Linked DNA regions of Homo sapiens: region 1 is linked to region 2. The links are contacts of gene promoters, found by promoter capture Hi-C in blood cells and fetal thymus (Javierre and others, 2016). All regions are on one chromosome and are shown on one strand. The core of a region is centred on a gene start or on the middle of the fragment in contact, and the rest is flanking DNA. Distances in the headings are between cores, read along the strand shown. Region 1 holds the start of RAB9B (RAB9B, member RAS oncogene family). Region 2 holds the start of TMEM31 (transmembrane protein 31).

What was found. Contacts are between HindIII fragments. The CHiCAGO score rates a contact against its expected background, and 5 or more counts as called.
Region 1: the fragment with the promoter of RAB9B here is called in contact with the fragment with the promoter of TMEM31 in region 2 in 1 of 17 cell types (M2 macrophages); the score reaches 6.4 in M2 macrophages.

The regions. Positions count from the first base shown.
Region 1 is chrX:103,830,511-103,834,525 of GRCh38, forward strand. RAB9B (RAB9B, member RAS oncogene family) reads right to left here and starts at 1,747. Exons shown (of 3, transcript NM_016370.4): 1 at 1,550-1,747. The HindIII fragment of the contact is 1,396 bases long and covers 1,120-2,515 here.
Region 2 is chrX:103,708,446-103,712,738 of GRCh38, forward strand. TMEM31 (transmembrane protein 31) reads left to right here and starts at 2,464. Exons shown (of 3, transcript NM_182541.2): 1 at 2,464-2,631; 2 at 3,791-3,915. The coding sequence starts at 3,814. It also overlaps the pseudogene GLRA4. The HindIII fragment of the contact is 10,178 bases long and covers 1,863-4,293 here.

The DNA.
Region 1 (4,015 bases), core at 497-2,996, 120 kb after region 2:
ATCTGACTCTAACTGAGTAAAATATTCGAGAGACGCAATTCCCCTTTCCTACCCCCACAAACTCATTAATGAGCATGCTCTAAGGATAGTTTACTAACTTTTTTTTTTCCCATCAGGGTCTCAGTCTTGGAGAGTAAGGTGAATTAGGAATTTCCATAACCAATACTCCCCAGCTCTTTGTTCTTTAACACACTTGAAACCTTCTGAATCTGCAGTACCCACAAAGCCTTATTCAAATTATTGTATTTAGTTGGGAATGCTTAGAGGTGGGAGTGGAGGTGGGGGAGGAGGCAGTACAATGAAGAAAAAGAAGTTGAACCTTTGAAAATAGTACATTTTAGTATGATGATGGAGAGAAGAGAGGCAGAAAAGCAAATTCGCATCAGTTCAGTTGCCATGGAGTGGAATGATGCTCAAAATCAGTAGTGCAGATTGCTCGGAGGCAAGTCTTGAAAGGGATGTGTACTGCAGGGATCGATAGGGGAAGAGCAACTGGGGAGGGCTAGGCACTGGATGAGAGTGGCACTGTTGGAAGTCTGTACAGGGGAGGAGCCATGGTTGGACCTGTGGGGAAAGCCCATCTTGTGGCGACACACTGGTAAGGGCTACTCAACTCACTGTTGAATGCTGGCACAATAATTGGAAATATTGCACTGAAGAATTGGGCGCGGCTATATTTATGTAAAATTCAACACGGATGAGAAATGATTGAATGTTTGAGTGTGTTTCCAATACAACCCAATACTTGGCGTTGGTGCTGGTGGTGGGTGCTTCGTAGCGCGGAAACCCTCTGACGCACTGGATTCATTTTGCAGAGCTAACAAGTTATCAGCTACATCCATGCCGACTCCAAATGCCACAGCTGTCATGCCACTGAAACGCTATTCCTACATTCATGCCCACATTTATATCCTATATGCAACTCAAAGGGTCCAATGTGGAGTCCCACATCTAACCTTTCACTGCTCACAACGACAGCTCTAGGGCTATAAGCCCAAAGGCACACTAGATAGCAATCTGGCATCGTCCCCAGGACACTTCTTCCTCAGTAGACTGCCCAGGGACAGATAGGTAGATAAGGTTTGGATGACATCAAGCGAGCTGAACACAAGGAAAAAAAGCTTCCTTGGGAGACAAGAATGCTGGCATCTCTACGACAGGGGCACTGTTAGCATTACGGACCTAGAAAGTGAGATGTCACACATAGTCCCAACTACCTCCGACCCAGGTCCTCTCACCTCACCCCCAGCTCTTAGAGCTAGTCGGCTGTGGCGCATGCGCACTGAGCCACACCCGCTCCCCACGGAGCCCTGCGCCTCTCTGCTCGGCTCTGGCAGCAGCTCGGGATTACTCAGCAACGCCCCCCTGCACTGTCACCTGCCCCCGACTCCGACCTCGGGAGCGGCTCAGTCCCTTTTCTCAAGCTACGAGTGGTCCTGGGGATCAACTAGACTTTCCTTTCTCCCTCTTCTCACAGGCCCCCCACCTCCCGGCCTTCCGGGTCCTCCAGCCCCTAGCCCCTGTTCCTGCCCACGCACAGGCACCTTACCCAACACAATGGGAAGGAAACAGGAGAGGGCCGCGGGTGCCAGGCAGGTCAGCTCTGCGTGCCGGGAATCCGGCTCCTTAGAGTCACCGTCACTGCTCCTGCTGCCTCCTCGTCCTCAATGGGGCAGCAAGTGCGGCTTGGACCTCGGTGGCCTGACAGCTGCCGCTCGCGCCCGCCGCTGCCGCCGCGCAGCGTCTCGAGCCCGCGCCCGCGCCCGCCAGGGGAGGGGGCGGGGCCCGCGCCGCCTCCTCGTGCCCCTTTCTCGGCGGTGGGGACCCGGTGTAGCCGCCTCCCGCCCTCCATGTGGCAAGCGCTCCCTGGCTCGCCCACTCTTCTTTCATGCTCATCGTCCAACCCTGGTCTCCCTTGTCCTCCTTCTCCTCCCCTAGCCGATTAGTAGGCACAGCGGCAATAGACCGTCAAATATTGCTCTTCCACTTAGCTCCTCTGCAGCCTGGGCCTAAGCCCTCAAGCAGGGCTAGCCACTGCCCCACTTCCTGCAATTATCCTCTGATCTACCTCATTTATCCTAGCTCAAAATCCTTTAATTTTGCCAAGAGGGTAGTACATACACCCTCTTGTTTCAAATAACTCAGGAAAACACATGATCACAACACATTGCTAGGCCCTCTAACTGGCTACAGCTTATGAAATTTTCAGGCAATTAAAAAAAATGTCCACATCTGTAGCGCAGGCATAGAGGACACACTGCCCTTTACTCTTACCAGATACAGTTCTAGAGGGCCACACAGGGGGCATTACTTGAATTTCCCGGAATTGCTGCTGGGGCAGAATTTGATGTTTTAATTGTGCCTAGCCGACCAGCTAGTCTCTTTTTGTTGTTTTCTGTAGCCCTCTGGTACTTCCAACTAGTTTGTGATTTTCCCCCTGGAATTGAAGAAGGACAAAGCTCCTGAGGTCATTTAGCCTGCACTCCACCTCTCTGTCAGGCAGCTCCATCTCTGAAGCTTCCCCATTGCCCGAAACCCTGTGACCTTGTGGCACAGGCCCTCACTCATCTCATGACCCCGTCCAGGCCCTCACACATACCCGCTACTTCCATCTAGGCCACTCTTCCTCTGTCTCTTGACAAGGCAATCGTGCAATCAATCTCCGCAGGCCCCAGCTTAAATGTCACTTCTCAGGATAACCTTTCTCGATAATCTCAGAATAGAGATGGTGCCCCAGTTTATACTCTTGTAGCCTCCTGTAACTTGCTGTATTTTTCCTTCATAACACTTACCCATTTTTGGTGGTACATTTAAGTGTATGATTATTTGGTTGACAGCTGTCTTCCCTACTAAACTATAGTGGGGAAGGACTATGAGGTCAAGGACAACGTTTGTGTTCACCACCGTATGCACAGAGCCTAGGGCAATGCTTGCTGCATAGGACATGCTCAGAAAATATTTGCTGAATATGAATGAATGCTGTATCACTAATAGTTGTTATATTTAAATAAAATAAATTGATGTAACTGAATCTCATGTGCTCCTATTTAAACCAACCCCGTTCCCCACACATACACTCTAAAACACTCTTCTGATGAAGACGAGATTCACACAATCCTCTAAATCAAATTTTCCGCATACATTTTAGTCTATTAAAAAACTATTGAGCATGGGCCCCAACATATGTATAAGGATTTATAGATTATATACATGTACTACTGTACATGTATACATTACACATTACTTTAAACATACATTTTAATGAGTAAACATTAAAATACTCCACAGAAATTTTAAAAGAATGAGAAAAATAAATATATTGATGTTCCAATGTTTTCTTTTTGCACCTCAATAAATAGTTTTGTGAAATGCTTTAAATAACAGTCCTTCATATTAGAGTAACTCGTCTTTAGGTGTAACAATCTAGACTACTTTTTCATTTTCTCATAGATGCCATTTTCCAACAGTTTAAAAATCTCTGAGAAACCCCCAAACCAACTGGCAAGTTTTAAGGATCTTTTAGTTTCTAAGCTACCTCGTTCTGTAGTCAGGATCTCACAACTGCTGAAAGCACCACACGTTTAGTGAATGTTGGAACACCTAAAGGTAAGAAAAATCCTTTGTTAGACCAAAGATTCCTACATGTAAATCCTATATTAAAAGAGTCTCTAGAGGCCACTTAAAAAGCAGCTACTATTATCTTTCTAGAATGGAAGCAACATGACTAACACTAGTTGTGAGGGATCAGCAAAAATGGACAGCACGAAGATTCAAAGTAACAGCTGTGGATGGTTTTGTGGCTCTCAGATGGGACTATTCCCAATGGTCAATCATTGAGATCTGTCAAATAGTGTCCTTCACACACAATAAAAATTCTATTTTTATAACACAGTTACACACACACACACACACACACAATAGAATCATAGTGTAGTCGGTAGATAGAAGGCCAAACCAAGATTGCGTTTGGATACCAGAGATAGGGTTACCTTCAGAGTCACACACACACACACAC
Region 2 (4,293 bases), core at 1,214-3,713:
AGTTTCAGGTATCTAAGAAATCACCTGAAGTGCAATGGCCTCTTGGAGGACGATGCAAACTGTCATCTCGGTTTGTCCAGAACGGAAGGTGTTCCTAAGACTTGGGTCTTTCAGGGCTGAAACTGGGGAAGTGCAAGGCAAATCAGGAAGAGCTGGTCATCCTGTGGCTACCTGAGGTATTTATTATAAGTTATAAGAAAAAAATATGTGTATATTGTATAGGTATGACATAGATATATACAAAATGTGGATAAAGTAGATTTTAAACACTCTGTCTCTCTCAGTTAGAGGGACACCACAGGGTCTTTATCGTGGGACCTCTGCAGCTATGGCAACACACTGAAAAGTGGCTTTGCCAGGCACGGTGGCTCACACCTGTAATCCCAACACTTTGAGAGGCCGAAGCTGGCGGATCACGAAGTCAGGAGTTCGAGACCAGCCTGACCAATATGGTGAAACCTCTTCTCTACTAAAAATACAAAAATTAGTCAGGCGTGGTGGCGGGCACCTGTAATCCCAGCTACTCAGTAGGCTGAGGCAGGAGAATCGCTTGAACCCACGAGGCGGAGGTTGCAGTGAGCAGAGATTGCGCTATTGCACTCTAGCCTGGGTGACAGAGCGAGACTCCATCTCAAAAAAAAAAAAAGAAAAAGAAAAAAAAAAAGAAAAGTGGCTTTGTGTATGAGATGTTGGTGTTGTAGGTCCTAGTAACCCTTGATAATGACATGACTAGAAACTGACCTGTCATCATAAAGACAGGCCTTGGTTCACCTCACATGTACTCTGTAATTCATTTTTACACTATTCTGACAAAGGAGGTTGTGCTGGACCCATTTTCGAGGTGAAGAACCAGAGGCAAACAAAATATTTTGCAATAATTTTAAAATGAGGGGAGTAAGTAAAATGGTTTTCTCCTTTGATTTCCAGTTCAGGGTCCCTCAGATGACCCTGTTGCCCAGTACTCACCCTGATCCCCTGAGCCCTACCCTGGCTAGAGGATGTAAGCAAAGGATGTTGGCAAAAAAGCTCTGAGGGGGAAAGTTGGATCCAACTGCTATTTCTGTTTCTATAGATCTAATTATTTTCCCTTTTCTCCAATCATAATAAATCTAAAGGGAGTTATTTGGACACATTTCCCAGGCTGGAAAAAGCCATTTCACACAGGAGAGAAAATATGGCCAACAGAGTAAGCTGGTCTTGGCTTTTTGTGACTTTAACATACTGCACCTGTTGTAGCTGGAGGAGCAAAGATGAATGGCTTGAAATCCAGGGGTGGGGCATCCTGCATTTGGGTATTCTCTATTTAGGCCAAATTCTGAGGGGTGTTTGTGTGTGGGGTGTGTGTGTGTGTGTGTGTGTGCTGGAAAGGAACATTGGAGCCTTAAATACCACTTTGTGGCTTACATGCCTATTAAAATAGAACTTTTTTTCCCCTGGCTATCTATAGGGGAGAAGGACTGAGAAGCTAGAGAGGGAAGATATCTCAAAACCACGCTAAGGAGGGAATGCACAGTGTAGGAGGTAAAGTGTGGAGATGGGAAAGAGTGATTTGTATTGAAGTGAGAGGGGCTAGAAAAAAAGGGATTAGAGAATGGGGAATGAAGAGGGTGCTGGAGGATGAAGAGAGGTGGGCAGGGTTCTGGGACCAAGCCCTTGAGAGGACTGGGCAGTATTTTGAAATTTCTTCCAGTTATCAAGTTATTCTATTGATCATGGCAAAGCTTTTGCTCTGTCCAGTTTGAAAGACAGTCCTCTCCAATCAGCCTGTAAAAGTTGGTGAGCTGGGTTACATGACTGCTGTGTCCAGAGCCTGGTGCTAAGGCCTGCTGAGGAGATGAAAAAGAGCTTCCCTTTCCTGGGGAAGCTTATGGACTAGCCGGGAAGACAGTGTAGGATTGCATGGGTAAAAAGTAAACCACTTTAGGCAGTGACATGAAAGGGGGCCACCATGCTATGGAGTTGTTGGTTGAGGAGAGAGTTGAGAAGAAAAGATGTGAATGGCTGGCTGGTTCCTAGAACACTCCTAACTGACTCTTGGCTAAGGGTTCCCTGGAGATCACATGGATTTTCTCCCTGCCCTCTCAGACTGAAGAATTCTTTTTCCCTAGCTGGAGCAGTAGGGCCCGGACAGAGGTTCTAGAAATGGATGAACTCTCCAACAATTTTTTCAGCCTGCTTGGTGCCTCCAAAATACCTGCTACAGGTCCTGGGATAACAGTGACTTTAGAAGACTCAAAAAAGGACATGACGAATGGCACGGGTTTGATTTTCAGTTTTATTCACGTTAATAATAATAATAATTCACGTTAAAAAAAGCCTCAGCCCACTTTTAGGCAGGCCCCAGAGTCCTAAGCAAGGCCCAGGCTGCTGTTGTAACTTTGTAATAATTGAGCACTGGTCATGACAGACTCCATTATGAGCTCAGGATCAGCCTATATATATGAGCAGGAGGGGACAGGCTGCAGGCAGTTGCGGGTTGCAGGAGTTCAGGAAAGGAGGTGGGACTAGAGTCAACCTGGAATAGCTCTACAGTAACAATGGCAGCCTTTTTGTTGCTGGGACATCCATACAGGCAACTTAGCTGGTGAAAGGACTCTGGATTGGTTGGCAGTCTGCTTTTTTTTTTCCAAGGTAGGCATTGAGAAGGCACCAAGATCAAAACTCCTATAAAGATAAGATCTTGGTACCTGCAGGCAGATTTGTTCGACACAGCTAAAGAGGGGGTGGGGACAGTTAGCTTAGAAAATGGAGTGTCCTGGCCGGGCGCGGGGGCTCACGCCTGTAATCTCAGCACTTTGCGAGGCCGAGGCGGGCGGATCACGAGGTCAGGATATCGAGACCATCCTGGCTAACACGGTGAAACCCTGTCTCTACTAAAAATACAGAAAATTAGCCGGGCGTGGTGGCGGGCGCCTGTAGTCCCAGCTACTCAGGAGGCTGACGCAGGAGAATGGCGTGAACCCGGGAGGCGGAGCTTGCAGTGAGCCCAGATCACGCCACTGCACTACAGCCTGGGCGACAGAGCGAGACTCCGTCTCAAAAAAAAAAAAAAAAAGAAAAAAGAAAATGGAGTGTCCTTTTTTCTTGCCCTTCTGCTAGGTGTATACACATATTTTTCTAACCCTTGGTATGGGTTAGGAAATGCTTTTAGGTTTCTTGAAGAATGAGTCCTACTCGAGGACATGTAGTTGTGGATTAGTCCACTAGAGGGCGTACTGCCCAGGGACCAACTAAAGGACTAAAGGGTAGGGACTGATAAATTCAAACCACTAGATGAGACAGGAGCCCTGCCCTCAGCAGAAAGGAACCTTAGCAAGGGACATGAAACCAAGGAGGTAGTTTGTGAGATATTTTTAGTGCGGACATACGGTAGGGGTGCCCCTGGAGCAGCTGAGGTGGGAGGTGGTGTGTTGAGGAGAGAACATTCCTTGTGCTAGTGTGGCCCAGACAAGCTAGAGTCAGGATTTTAAGAGTGGGTTCACAGCATTGTTTCCCATCCCCCAGAGGTCATTATGCTCTTGCCTCTCTGGCTTTAGAGCCTCCAGATTAGACAGAAAACATGGAGTCAGAGCTGAAGACAGACCAGAACTCTGTGTCTCTAATGGTTAAGCAACCAGTATGTAGCTCAGTTAAGCCTTTCAGCTTTGCTCATAATTGGACACTTGCTTCTGTGAGGCTGGCCCAGGCACCTCTGTTGTCATGACAACTTACCTAGCACCTATTGTCTGGGCAATTGGGGGTAAACTGCCTCTGTTGTCATGACGACAAGATTTCTTTTATATTTCCCCAGGTGATCACTTTACTGTAGAAGAAATGAGGTTAACAGAAAAGAGTGAGGGAGAACAACAACTCAAGCCCAACAACTCTAATGCACCCAATGAAGATCAAGAAGAAGAAATCCAACAGTCAGAACAGGCAAGTGGTGGTTTCTCAATTCCAACTTAGTTATGGGGGTCCTCTTATAATGCTCCCCTAGAAAGACACCAATGCCTGATTGTTGAATTCTTAACCACCAATTAGTGTATGACAACCTGGGCTACCTTCCTCCCGGTTGTGGGGGAGCAATTACTACTCAAAGCAATCTCTTTTTATTTATTTATTTATTTACTTATTTTTTGAGATGGAGTCTCACTCTGTTGCCCAGGCTGGAGTGCAGTGGTGTGATCTCAGCTCACTGCCAGCTTCAAGTGATTCTCCTGCCTCAGCCTCCTGAGTAGCTGGGATTACAGGTGCCCACCACCACACCGGCTAATTTTTGTATTTTTAGTAGAGACAGGGTTTCACCATGTTGGT